Regions from separate parts of the Homo sapiens genome. Here all the other regions are linked to region 1. Evidence: promoter capture Hi-C in 16 types of primary human blood cells and fetal thymus (Javierre and others, 2016). All regions are on one chromosome and are shown on one strand. Each heading gives the region's core, a stretch centred on a gene start or on the middle of the fragment in contact. The rest is flanking DNA. Distances are from core to core; before and after follow the strand shown.

Region 1 (2,700 bases), core at 160-2,659:
GAGCTTCCCAGGTTCTAGGTTCTAATCTGGGATCCCCCTCTAGGGGAAATATCAGATCTTGAGCATTTTAATGTCTTAGGGTCTCTGTTTCTTCAGGAAAAAAATGAAGTTAAAAGGTATTTGGATGATTTTGGTAATATGAGATAATACTGTAGAAGCATATTCAAATAGAAGGGAGAATGTCAGAGAAGTATGAGCCAGAGGGCTGCTGGGTGTTTTATGGAGAAACTGAGGCCCAGATAAGTGACTTGCTTGGAGTCACACACAGAGCTACCGGCACCCTGCTCTGTCAGGGCTCAGTCTGCTGTCCTTCCCAAGAGAGTTCTAGCCTTAGGATTTGAAAAATGTGCCAATACTATTCCCTCTGTATAACGACACGAAGAAGGCAAATTACATGCCTAGGACTCCAGAATGCTCATGTCCTGAAATGCCAGAAAGCGGTCCCGCCCCTTCCCACAGACCTTTCTCTGCACGGAGGCCAGGGAACCTTTCCCTCCAGGGAATTGGCTAAAGGGATCCACTCCTTCCTGGATCAGAGGTGGAGGTTGAAGGGAGTAGGAGGCTCGGTTAAACCCTCCACGTGCAGAAAGAGAATTTCAGGCCAGAAGGGAGACGGGCAGCCGGTGCGTGGGATACTGGGCACACACCCAGTGGTTTTCCCATTTCTCAGAGGAGGAGCTAGCAGAAGTCTTTTGCTCAAGGCACCTGGTGACCGTGCGAGGAAAGTGACAGTGGAACCCAGTTTAACAGTATCCTAACCCCGAACTCAAGGACCACGCAAGGGCAGTCATTTGTTCCTATCCTTGCTGCCCACTGAATCCAGGGCCTATAGCTCGCTGACCTACTAGGTGCGCGCCTAAAGGCATGCCTGGAGGGCCTGGGTGCGGGCACGTGGAGCCACGGGGCTGGTGAAGGTGACCGCCTTCTCCTTCCTGGACCCGCGTGCTACGCACTACAGACCTGAGGGATGCTCAGGCCCGCAAAGTTTGCTCCACTACTCGGGGGCTCAAGGAGCTGTGCTTGAGGTGGCAGGGGGCGACCTTCAACCCCACGGCTGTTTGTGCTGTCTTTTCTAGTTCAAAACTAATTCCCAGTGGTGGGGGTGGGCTGGGCTTCAGAGAGGGGTCCCATTCCCGAAGCCCGCGTCCTGGTCCCGCCAGCCCACCTCCTGTATCCCTGCCACGGCCCCTGCGTCCCGGGTCCGGGTCCGGGTCCTCAGCTCTGTGGCCGCTCCCACTAGCTGATTTTGACAGTGGGGGGTGGGAGAGGGTTCCCGAAAGGCAGGGGCGGGCGCGGCGAGCCCCTGCCAGATCCGGGGATGATAACGTGCCTGCTCCATGTCGCGGCTTCTAGCTGTCCAGGCTCCGCCCCCTGTGAGTGTGTAAGTGTGTGATGCTGCCGCGGCCGCCGCCGCCGCCTGTGCAGCCGCTGCCGCCGCCGCCGCCGCCGCCGCCGCCGCCGCCGCCGCCGCCGCCGCTGCCGCCCCGGCTGCCGCGCCGCGCCGCTGCCTCTGCCCCGGCCGCCCCCGCCGCCGCTGCCGCCGCCGGCCCGCAGCCAGCCAGGCGGGCGGCCCAGCCCGCCTGAGCCCGCAGCGGCTGCCGCCGCAGCGTCGGGTCGCTGGGTGCGCGGGCTACCGCGGACCGAGCGGACCCGAGTGGGCGACCAGGCGCTTGCCCGCCCAGTGCCACTGCCGCCGCTTCCTCGCCGGAGCACAGGACCAGACACCTCCAGCGCCCGCTGCTGCTGCCGATGCGGCCCGGACACTTTTAGCTGGGCGGGAGGGCTGGAGAGCCGGGGGCCGCCGAGAACCGCCAGCGAGCTGTGCCGAGAGCCGCGCCGACCCGCTGCGATCAGGGACAGGCGCCCGCCCGCCGCCGCCGCCTGGCCGCTATGGATCTATTCGACTTTTTCAGAGACTGGGACTTGGAGCAGCAGTGGTAGGTGTTGATTTTTGCCTTCTCCTTTGATGAGCGAGTCTCCTGGCGAAGTCTGAGGTTTTCGCCTTTGTTAAGAGGAGCTGAAGCTGTCGTGGGGGGCGCCCCGGACTCCCTCCCACTTGCTCTCAGCCACCTCTGGCCCCGGCCGCGCTGACTCCTAGGTCGGATGCCGGGGTGGGGGGAGGTGCGGGAAGAGGGAGGGATGCGGACCCGAAAGCGTCGCTTTGCGCTCCAAGTCTAAAGAGTTGCATTTGGCTCACATCGAATTCGGTGCCGCCCGAGGGCTGAACCGCACGACCTCCCAGGAGCTTTTCTCTCGGAGCGGCTTGCCGGTCTGGCCTCCTTGAGCCCCGGATGCCGCCCGCCCGAAATGTCTCAACTTTCCAGGTGCCCAACGCCCGCGGCGGGCCATGGGGGAAAGGCAACGGCCAGGTGCGGCCAGCAGCCCTCTGCTTCCTTGGTGGCCACCGCCCCCGCTGCCGCCACCTCCATCCCTGCGCTGCGCGGCGCGCACACCTTTCCTTCTGCCGACTCAGCCCAAGTTCCCTGCACTCCCGGGTGGAGCAGCGGCTTTGGGGGCCACCACTCAGGGGACCTTGGTTCGAGGCCGACTTCGGCGCTTGGCTTTCAAGACTGAGGGTTTTCGGAGTTGGCCCCCCAAATCCGCAGCTCTGATGTCAATGCACATTTAATTACCGGATGGACCCCCTTCGGCCTCCCACTGGGAGGCAGCCGTAGTTTTTTGTAAGGGACCTCCAGCTCA
Region 2 (2,753 bases), core at 129-2,628, 290 kb before region 1:
CATCAAAAGGAATAATATTGACACAATACAAATTATTTATGAAATTTGTTCTCCCCATTATGAGGCTGAGCCCAACATAAATTTGTTATCTAGTTCTCAGGGGGAAAAAATGACAGTTTCTTTAGGTATTTTATTATGGTCTCACAAATACAGATTCTGATGTGAGTCCAAAATGACCACATTAATGTTTGCAAGGTACTGGAGAGGTGAGGGTGAGGGTAAATATAAGAGTGCTTTTAGAAAACTCTTTTGTAATGTTTCCAGGTTTGCACTCTGTTCATTATCGCAGCCCCATTCCTTTATGCAGATAGAATTTGGGTCACTGAATTACAGTATGGAAGAATTTTAGAGAAAGATCGATTAATTGGCCCCTTTTGGTGCAAGAGAACTTCAGTCTGGCTCCTATGGCTTTAGTAACTTTGGCCTTTACTATCTTAGCATGTCATTTCCAGGAAAGTGCTTAGTTAAAATAAATACCTAGCTATTTATATACCCAGTATCAATCAATTGACTGACAATATGGAGCCCATCAAATTGTCATTTGTCCCTCTCCCAATCATCAATTTTTTTGGATAATTAATATTTCATGATGATTCCTTAAGTGAATTATTCTATGCAGATATATATTTGGGCTCCTGGGTGAGTATTTTTGTATGTATTTATATTATACCTCATTTCACAAAGGAATTAAGGTAACTTGTAAGAGGACAAAAAATTACATAAAAATTAAGAAAAAATTCCAGGGTTATAATGGTTATAAGTTTTAATAAAATATTGGCAACCACAGGGATAGATGTTTCTAGGGTCACTTGAGGGAGGAAAAATACTGCACAAGATAGCTTTTGAAATTTTGATATTAGATTGTTATCTTGGATTTTATAGAACAAAAGTAAGACATGTATTTATAAAATATTTACTATAAAGGAAAAAGTTTCATGACTGCTTATACTGTACTTTATTGATTTTATGTTAAAAATGTAAACAAAGATTATCAGCAGTATTTATTACAAATATTTCTAGGACTCTGTTATCAAGTAACAAACTGGAACATTATCCAATAATACCTCGGCAGGACAGATCAGAGCCCAGGATTACCTTACTTTTTAAAAATGACAGAGAATGGGAGGAGAACACAAGTATACAAGGAGAAAAGTCACTAGGGACAGCCAACACAGTAAATAAACAGAATAATAATAGCAGGCCAAAAACTTAGTTTATTACTTGTACACAGCAGCAATTTAGAATTTGTGCAGAGATAATGAAATGCCCTATAATCTGATTTCCAGATTAAGTGTGTCATTAAGATAAAAGTTGAATAGAAGCAGGACTAAGGTATGCCCTTGCTTCACTCATGGTCAAAGAACTGGCAATTCCTACCTTTATTTCATCTGGGGTGCTGGTGAGAACCTGTTGAAGCAGAACTAAGAGACGCCTATCAGTGATGATGAAAGGCTATTTGTCCAGAGCTGATTTCTTGTGACAGAGCCAGAGGCTGCAGCAAAATCTACAAATGCAGCAGGGTAGTGTTTAATAGGGCTTCATATACTTTGTTGTACAAAATAATAAAGATGTTTTATTATGTGTAAAATTTTTGTTCACTGAGAGCAAGTCATGCTAAACTAAACTTAATGCCTTAATCATCTATTTAAAAAGAGTTTTCAAAGTCTGTTATTAGACTCATTTGATCGGGAGATTGTTATAGATGTAATACATCTGGTTTTCTGCAGTGTTTGATATTTATTCATTCAACAAATATTTGTCAAATAGCTGCTATCTGCTACTCCATGCCAGGCACTTCTCTAGGCACTGGGGAAACAGCAGTGGACAAAACAGTTAAAAACCCATGTTTCTTGGAGCTGACATTCTAGTGGGAAAGAGAGAAAACAATCAAGTAAATAATATAATGTATCTGCTGATGTCATTGCTGGGGGTTAGAGAATACTTGGCCAGTGGGGCCTGAGATGGGATGGGGGATATTATTTAATATAAGATAATCAGGGCAGGCCTCTCTAATAAAGTGACTATGAGCAGAGACTTGAAGGAAGAAAGGGAGAAAGTCATGTGGCTATCTGGGTAGAGTATCCCAGATGGAAGGAACAGCAAATGCAAAGGTCCCAGAGTACAAATGTTAGTGTTTGAAATGTGGCAAGGAGGCCAGCAGGACTACAGCTGATCGTGCCAGGAAGATAGTGAAAGGAGAGAGGAGGAAAGAACAATGGCAGGAGATGAGAGGAAGGGACACATAATGTTGCTCAGTCATAGTGAAGACCTTGGGGTTTACTGGGAGCAGAATGGGATGTCATGTTCTCCTCTGGCATCTTGAAGACAGAGAAATGAAAACTGAATAGAAGTACAGGTAAGTGAATTCCTGGCTGATGAAGCCACTACGTGATGATTAATGGATCAGTGTAACAATGGAGCGAGGTCTATCATGGAGTTCTGCACTTGGCTGTACTATCATATGCAATTCCTTTGACTTGCGGAAGTAATCATGATTATATTAATAATAGCTAATACTTATCTAGCACTTACTGCAAGCCAAGCACAGTTCCAATTGTTTTACATGTATTCCCTCATGTAATTCGCACAACAGCTTTATGATTAAGTGTTATTATAATCATCACTGATAAAGCTATGGAAACACTAAGATGCAAAATAAAGTGCCCTGCCTGGGTCACAAGGCTAGCATGATGTTGACCTGGTTCCAGAGTCTGTCCTCACAATCATTATACCACACTCTCAACATAGAACAC
Region 3 (2,772 bases), core at 178-2,677, 330 kb after region 1:
AAATGTATCCTTCTGCCCCCCTTTGCCTGGAGTTGTCATTCTCTAGTACCTTTCACTTATAGCATAAGCTGGCTTTCTAAAGGACTGCTGTGTTGTTGCATTGACACCGTATCTCTCCAACAATGTGAAATCAACAAATCCCTTTGGCAATTTCTGAAACATATAACAAATTGTGCATTATTCTCTAAAAAAAATCAACTTTGATGGGCTTATTTTATTTCTACTTCGAATGGTAACTGGTAATTGTTATTACCTTACTCTCATTCCAATTATCAATACTCTAGCTACAGAGAGTACCACCAGACCCTGTACCGGGACCTAGTCTAGCCTCCTGGCTGTCAGATACCTTGCAAGGAGTAGACACTCAATAAATGTTTTCTGAATGAATGAAATTAAATATAGATTATTAGAAATGCTGCTGGAGGAGAAGCCAATGAAAGTGTGTGAGTTTTATCAAGTTGGTTTGCCTGAGCTGGTGCTAAAGGAGCAAATTGGAAGGTAACCATTAAGAAACATCTCATGCTGTGAGGATATAGCATGTCATTCCATCTTTTGAAGTGACTGTGAAAGGAAAAAAAAAACATGGCTGTAGTATTATGAAAGCCTCGCGAATTATCTCAAATCAGTATATTTTAAGTGATGGTCATTGGATGTAGTTGACGGCAAAATAATTTGAAACAGAAGAGCTGGAAATTCAACATTGCAATTAAAAATCACTTTTGAAAAGAGTTACAATGATCTGATGTCAAAATTAGCTTAAGAATGTAAGAAACAATTTCAAGGGTTAGAAATGTTAAGAACTGGCCCTGAAGAAACCCCAGAATCCTCACATACCTGAACTGGACCACTTAGAAAAAGCCCTCTACCTTGATTCCCTTTTTGATACTGCTCTTTGCAGAACACTTTCTCAGTGGCCAGTTCTTACATTTCTAAGCTTTGATATTGTGTTAATTTTGCCTGTACCAAACAAGGCAAACAATTCAGTGTTGTTCAATCTGATAACATTTCCTAGTGGGGTGTTCAGTCTTCTATTCTGACTGGTTCAACCTAATTTAGACAAAGACAAAGGTCTTAATAAAGATTAAAATTTACAAGGCAATCGTGTTTAGGGAATCAAATACCATTAGTTGGATGGGCCGTGGCCTGAGGTTGCTGCTGCTGAAACCTTTTGCTGAACTAAAAAGGTCTGGTTGAATTCTGCCCAGTATATCACTATAGTGTTCTGTTCCCTTGTATTTACCTTTGGAGACCTTTCTTTGCAGTGTTTGAATGTAGAATGCCCGAGGAGTAACTGGGCCAAAAAAAGTTGCATGAATAGGCCCTGCACATGGTCATATATGTTCCTGTTGTATTCAGTGGGTGAAATGGAATTGATTGCATCTGGCAATGGCAAGAAGATGGCTTGATTGATTGCCTGATTGAGTACACAGTGGAGATTCAGAATACTGATCACTATACTTCCCAATTGTACATTATAATTAGGGCTCTTTTTCAATGGAACCCTGGTTTGGGGGCTGCCAGGATGAAGGCAGCCAATGTGAGCTGAACTTTTTGCATGTACAGATTCTCCTCCTGGATCCGAAGGAGAATATTTCCAGATTCCCTTAAACAACTGCCAGCACTAAAGAGTTTGAATACAGAATTCCATTATTTATTTGAAGAAACATCGCCAGGGTTTTTATACCATGCCATTTAAATCATAAGTTAGTGTTAGAAACTTTTAAAAGAATTGCATTTTGCATTGACCCATTGTTATGCCATGGCCAAGAAGTTATGTTTAATGTAACCGTTGATTTTACACTTCCTCTCTATGAGCACTTGCATGGAAATCAGAGGAGCAATCTCAGGAGACTGTCTTAACAGCATTCCAAATAGAAGAATATTCATTCAATTGAATGGAACAGAGTTTTGACCACTAGAAAAGCTTGGCAGGAATGGCTAGTGATCAAGCCTAGGAAAGTCTATGGTTCCACTGTTGTTAGATTTTCTAAGAGTTCAGCAAACAATCAGACAAATTGGGCTGTTAGCTGTCTCACTGTGAGACAATAGGCTCCCCTCAGCATGTTTCCCCCACCCCATCCCTGGGAGAATGACAAATTTCCTTAGTCAATTTAGTCAGCCGTGTTTATATGTCATGCAAAACAACTGCTCCAGATTCAGTTTTGCATCTTCTCATATATATCTTTGACTTTACAGAAGTAAAGTGTATGATTATCTGATTAGGTAAAGCAGTACAGATGATTCACAACACCCACTCCGCCACCTTTTAGGAATCCCTTTTCACTGCTCTAGGCAGAGGACATTTCGCCTTCAGAGATGAACTGCTCACTGCCTTCTAAGACAGTAGGCTCCATGATTGGAAACCTCAAATGATTGGAAATTCTTTAGTAGTTTGAGCTAAAATTGGTCCCCTGATAACTTTACCCATACAGCCAGTCCTAAACTCTTGGTCCACAAAGCAGGTCTCAAATCTCTTTCATGTGAAAGACTTTCATGGATTTAAAGACACTCCTCACTCTCCCTTTTCTGTGGACTAAACTTTCCCTGTTTCTTTAATGTCTATGTATACATGAGATGAGCTTTCCAAGCTCTTACCATTCAGATAGCTGTCCCTTAGAGGTATTGCAGTATTCCCATGCCCCCACTGAGATGGGACATCCAGGAGAGCACTCTGAGAGGGCCCTGAGAGGAAAAAGATCAGTAGTTCTTCCCACATGCCCTACTTCCCTCTAAGGGAATTTCGTTTGGAACAGCCAAGCTCCCTGACCCTGA
Region 4 (2,700 bases), core at 54-2,553, 310 kb before region 1:
TGTTGATCAGATATCATATATTAAACACTATTTTGTCTTTTCCCAAGTGATTTTTATCATATACTAAATTACCACATATACTAGGCTGTAATTATTGATTGTATTTAATGAAATACTCTAATTTAAGAGGCTGTGTCACATACTGAAAAAAATATAACTTTTATAGATATATATCTATTTCATAAAATGTCATGGATGTGTCACTGAGAGACAAGGGGACAACACAGTTACACATCTTGCCATATGTGTATGAACTGAATAACAGATGATTAGTGACCAATCACTGGCAGACATTGAAAGAAGTGATGAAATAGATCACTAGTCATGATGCACATTGTTATTACATAGTAGATTTGTAGACTGAAGAGCCAGCAGTGAGGTTTGTACTTAATGCAGTTATTCACAGTATACAGTGAGAACTGAAATCTGAACTGTGCTCTTGGGGAGCTAGTGTTCTTTAAATAAACTGTGGAATCTGAAATATATGTATACAGAATTGTGAAAAGTTAAGAACTGGATGCAAAGTATATCCCACAGTCCTTGACACAAAGTAGGTGCTCATAAAAGTTAAGCTTCCTTTTATTTTCCCTTTAGATGACTCTAAACAGGCCTACACAAATTTTAGTGTTAATTGGGGTTAGACATTGTGTCCTTCAGCTACTACTAACCTCTGTATACTCCATCCTATAATCATGGTTTCCCTCCCAGTTTGGGGGTCTAGTTATATCTGACATTTTCAACCATTATTTATAAATATGTGAGTTTTAAAATTAAATGTTCTCCCTCAAAAAATGTTCACAAATCACTTAGGCATTGATAATGAAACAAGTGAGTCTTATCAATGAGAGTAGCTTTAGGTAGGTGACCAAGCAGAAAGTTCATTCAAGGGTTGATGTTTTAAATTTTTACTTCTAATGATGTTGAATTTGAATTATTTATTGGCTCTAGGAGACTAGGATGTTGAATTTATTGTAGAACCTTGAAAAGTGTTGTTACCTCCTTTTGCTAGCACCTTAGTACAGATACAACATTGTTGCAGTGCCACTTCCTCTCTTAGAGGTCTTCATTGAGTATGTGAAATGACTCCGAAATACCAATTTCAGACATGCCCATTTTAGGTCATAGTTTATCTTTCACAAAGGTAGGCCACCATTTTGTCATTCTTTAGCAGGTGCCAATTGCTGTTAAGCTAAACTTGCTATAAACAATAGTAGTTCTCTGGCATGATGACTCTTATGGCCATCTGTTAGGGTGGCACTGTGCCCACCCATAGAGTGGTATGCCAGTTTCAACAGGGCACAGGTGCCAGCCAAACATAGGTTTAGAAGGCTAGCCTGCAAGAACTCAGCAAGGAGATCCTCCAAGTGGTTAGTGATGCCAAATTAGACCCACATGCTTCATTACAAGGGATCACATCTGTTGATGCTTGTGGGCATTATATTGTCAATTAAGGCTTTTCTTTCTGTTTCTTTATTCATTCCAACTTTGGAATGGGAATACAGAAAATCAGGAGCAAAATTACTCCTTGGCCAGAAAAATAATCAGTATTTCCCATGTCATCCCCTGATGTCAGTTTTCTGCAGCTCCAAACTTTATTCTAAATTATGTGAAAACCAAAAGACACATGATGCTAGCTTATGATGCTCTATTATTAAAGATGACATTTAGGAAACAACCAGCTAACTCTATCTCTGATTATCGACAACATTTTAAGAATTTATCTGCTGGAAACAGAGATTTTAATCCTAGTTAAGTGTGTGTCTCATGTATCACCTGTTATTTCTTTATTGAAGGATTATTTTCAACCAAAGACAAGATGGACCACAACGAGTCATTTATTATCCAGTGTTCTCTTTCATGTCTGGGCTGCAGTGCATGGCTTGACTCCAGAATAGTGTTATTACACCTTTGTGTGTTTCAAACTACACTACAGGTTAGGTATATGAGACATAAGGGAAATACAGCTACCTATGCCACATAGAAACACAGAAAGAGTTTTTGGAGATTTAGGAACAGAGGCAGGGCTGAGGTTAGAAAGCTTTCTTGTTGTATAATACAGACCATGGTAGTGTCTTAAATATGGGATGGTGTTTAAAAGTTCACATCAGTCATTTTCATTTCCCCCAAATGTTTATGCACCTAGATTACAGATACATTCATGAAGAATTACTAATACCATAGCTTGTCATGTAAAATAACCTAGAGGACTTTGGCGTATATGCTTGATTTTTGTGATTGCTAGCTTAACATGTGTATTTTCCCTCTCTCACTCTTTTCCATTGATAACACTAACATAAACAGAAATCAAAACTGGGCATTCTGTTGCATCCCAGTGTATTATTTCCTCATGGTACTGAGCATTCAATCTATCAATCCTAATTATCAGGCAGATTAGAAGTAACCAAAGCAGGATATATCCCACAAAAGCGCAGAAATTATAGGATGGAAACAGCATAAAGGGACGTGGGTGATGGTGGGGAAGAGGAAAAGAGTAGAGTAGTGAGTGCACAAGCATTGAGGTCACAGAGACCTGGGTTGGAATTCCAGCTCTACTCCTAGCTCCTATTAATACTACCAGTTACTACTAGCAGATGTGTAAGCTTGGGCAAAACATTAAACCTCTCTCATCCTCATTTTTCTCACCTGTAAAATAAAGACAATTATACACACACACATGCACGCACGCACACACACACACAC
Region 5 (2,700 bases), core at 59-2,558, 310 kb after region 1:
TACAGTTTGTCCTACAGAGTAAACTATTATACAAGAAGAAGAAGTAGATTGTGCCTAATGTTTTCTGTTTATTTTGTTTCAGGTAAGCCTTCCCAGTGATCCAAGCTGTGTTGAAGAAATCTTGCGGGTGAGTTTAAACCTTTATTTTTGTGCCTTTTAATAATGAAGCAATCTATCTGCTTAAGCTGTTTAAAGTAATTACTGTTCTGTTTCAAGGAGTTTCATGATGGGGAATCCTGATATTCTACTTCAAGACCCTTCTGCTTATTCCAGTGGCCTCATTTCTTGCCTGTCTTCTTTCCATTTTGTAATCAAGCTAGTCTTCTAATATCACTAAGCTTCTGCCCTATCCATTCCTACATCCTTCTCAGACAGAGACTTACCACCTTCTTTAGGAAACGTTCCCTGTTCAAGCACCATACCCTAAACCTTTGCCTTTTACCTTTCTGGGATCTCAGCTCAATCTCACTGCTGCCGCCCACTATGTGGAACATGGTTACCGAGATTGATTGTGGCCTATAATAAGGGGAAGAGATGTGGGAATGGGAGAGGAGGAGAAGATGAGAGACTTGAAAATGATGGCATGTTGTGGAAAGTGTTACTTATGGAAGTGAGTGTATGTGTGTGAATGCCTTGAGGGCAGAACAAAGTTGAAAGAATGGCTATAATCTCTTCTGAAGTAAACAATCAAACCAAAAGAAGAAACCAAAGTTAAGCAAGAAAAACATATCTGTCTGCTCTCTCTGGCCATTGGCATCATAAGGCAGTATGGAATCTCAAGAATAGGAGTCATGGTAATGAGCTCCTGAGCTCCTGTCCTGGCTCTACCATTTGTCACTTCTGTGACCTTGGACAGATGACTTTATCTCTCTGAATCTCCTTTCCTCGTCTGTAAAAGAGGACAATAATACCTGCCCTAACTCCCTTATAGGCTACCAAGTGGTATATAAATGCTGGCTATTGTGATAAATGATGACCAGTGTAGTCATGTAAAAACCATGAAGGCTTTCTATCTGGGAAAGAAAATAATCTATGTGCCAGTGAAAATTTGGCACCCCCTTTCCTCAGTTACCAAAGTCACTCCAACTCCCTCCTGATCCCCCTCTCCCAGTAAGTGCCTTCTCAGCAGCCCAGTGTTTGAAGCAAGCCCTGAGCAAATGCAGCCAAAGGAATAGTCAAGAGCCAAAAGCTGTTTACCATTGAAATGGCTTGCCACCCGGAGTATACCTGATGTACACATTCGTGCACCTGTTTCAGCCCAAGAACATTGTTCTTGACTATTAAAGAGATGAGCCAGTCATATCACTTTGATCAACGATGAGACTATATGGATTAGGGCAGGGGTTCCCAATCCCAAGTCAATGGACTGGTACCATGTGTTCCTCGTGAGAATGTAATGCCTTGATGATCTCAGGTGGAACAGTTTCATCCAAAACCAACTCCCCACCCCTACTCCCACTCCCTACCCCCTCATCTGCGGAAAAATTGTCTTCCATGAAACCAGTGCCTGGTGTTAAAAAGGTTGGGGACTGCTAGATTAGGACTATGCTGACTACTTTGGTAAGATAAGAACCCAGCAACCCCTCAGTCATCTGTCTCAGGGGCCCGACGTTTTGGGTGGAGACGAGGCAGCTGTTATGAGCACCACAAAAGGAATGCACACTGGGAACTCAGGCCTTTCCCATTGGGAAAATACATTCAGTCCTTGCTCACTTGTCAACAGCCTTCCTTAACAGAAGGTAATAACATTGAAAGAAATGTCTTACTCTGCTCTAGATAGTAACCTTGTTATTCCTTTCTTCTCCGAGTCACAAGCATAAATAAACTCAGTGGCCTTTTTATAAACTCCCAAAGGAATGCCAGGCATATCTCAAAATCTCACTAATTTGTCACAATCGAAATTACATACTTAAAAGCAACCCAGCCCTGGTGCCTAGGTGGTTATGTGACTAAATGCAGGAAGGAGGGTGAACACCTGGCTGAGGCTGGCGACACCAGTCTCCTAAAGGAGCCACTTAGAGAAACAACAGAATTTCACTTACACATGGAAAGAAAAGAAGCAGGTTGCCTTAATAGGCTCACAAAAGATAACATGCTTTGAGAAAGTAACAAAAGTCCTTCTGTTATTCTTGAAAGAGAATCTAGAGAAATGTCTCTTTTTTTTGAAGGGCTATAGATTGTATAGAATTCTTTTTTTTTTTTTCCAACAACGCTGTTAATGAGTGGGCCTTCCTTTATTAAAGAAAGAATGTTTCATTCCCCATGCTTCGAATAAAAATAAGCTTTCTGAAATTTGCGTCCCCAATTTTATGACTAATTGTTAAATTTTTATAGACCACCTTGCATGTCACAATAGAGCATGCTTGTTGGGCTTTTTGTCTTAATTACACATTCATGTTCCTTTTGGTTTGAGGGCCTTAGAGGCCTGTGACGGGTTCCGCAGTAAATTTGTCACCTCATTCCCCATAAACCCCTTTCTTAGGGAAAAGTACATTTTATCTTTCTCCCTACCTCTCCTGGCCATGCTCGCTGCTTTTCAAACTAAGCAGAGGCCCAAACAATGTCATCTCTCCTCACTGAGGGGAGCTATGCAGAGGAAGGAGCACTAGCCCCGGAGTGGAGGAGCTGGCTTCCAGTTGCTCATGAGATTCCCTTATTTCCTAGCTGTGTTGCTTTTCAGTTTCTTCATCTAGAAGCATG

The links. The method cuts DNA at HindIII sites, captures the fragments that hold promoters and counts their contacts. A CHiCAGO score of 5 or more calls a contact.
Region 2: a contact is called between a fragment that was not itself captured here and the fragment with the promoter of AFF2 in region 1, in 1 of 17 cell types (naive CD4 T cells). The highest score is 6.2, in naive CD4 T cells.
Region 3: a contact is called between a fragment that was not itself captured here and the fragment with the promoter of AFF2 in region 1, in 1 of 17 cell types (neutrophils). The highest score is 6.5, in neutrophils.
Region 4: a fragment that was not itself captured here is called in contact with the fragment with the promoter of AFF2 in region 1 in 4 of 17 cell types (naive CD4 T cells, activated CD4 T cells, total B cells and 1 more); the score reaches 7.7 in naive CD4 T cells.
Region 5: a contact is called between a fragment that was not itself captured here and the fragment with the promoter of AFF2 in region 1, in 1 of 17 cell types (neutrophils). The highest score is 9.0, in neutrophils.

The regions. Positions count from the first base shown.
Region 1 is chrX:148,499,208-148,501,907 of GRCh38, forward strand. It overlaps AFF2 (ALF transcription elongation factor 2), which reads left to right and starts at 1,410. Exons shown (of 21, transcript NM_002025.4): 1 at 1,410-1,937. The coding sequence starts at 1,891. RefSeq lists an enhancer at 2,070-2,700. The HindIII fragment of the contact is 5,176 bases long and covers 1-2,700 here.
Region 2 is chrX:148,213,297-148,216,049 of GRCh38, forward strand. No RefSeq gene overlaps it. Among named protein-coding and RNA genes, the nearest start is that of FMR1NB, 230 kb to the left of the region's middle. The HindIII fragment of the contact is 8,090 bases long and covers 1-2,753 here.
Region 3 is chrX:148,827,460-148,830,231 of GRCh38, forward strand. All of the region lies in intron 4 of AFF2 (ALF transcription elongation factor 2), which reads left to right. Among named protein-coding and RNA genes, the nearest start is that of AFF2, 330 kb to the left of the region's middle. The HindIII fragment of the contact is 990 bases long and covers 933-1,922 here.
Region 4 is chrX:148,184,519-148,187,218 of GRCh38, forward strand. No RefSeq gene overlaps it. Among named protein-coding and RNA genes, the nearest start is that of FMR1NB, 200 kb to the left of the region's middle. The HindIII fragment of the contact is 1,466 bases long and covers 571-2,036 here.
Region 5 is chrX:148,809,794-148,812,493 of GRCh38, forward strand. It overlaps AFF2 (ALF transcription elongation factor 2), which reads left to right. Exons shown (of 21, transcript NM_002025.4): 4 at 83-127. Among named protein-coding and RNA genes, the nearest start is that of AFF2, 310 kb to the left of the region's middle. The HindIII fragment of the contact is 1,944 bases long and covers 337-2,280 here.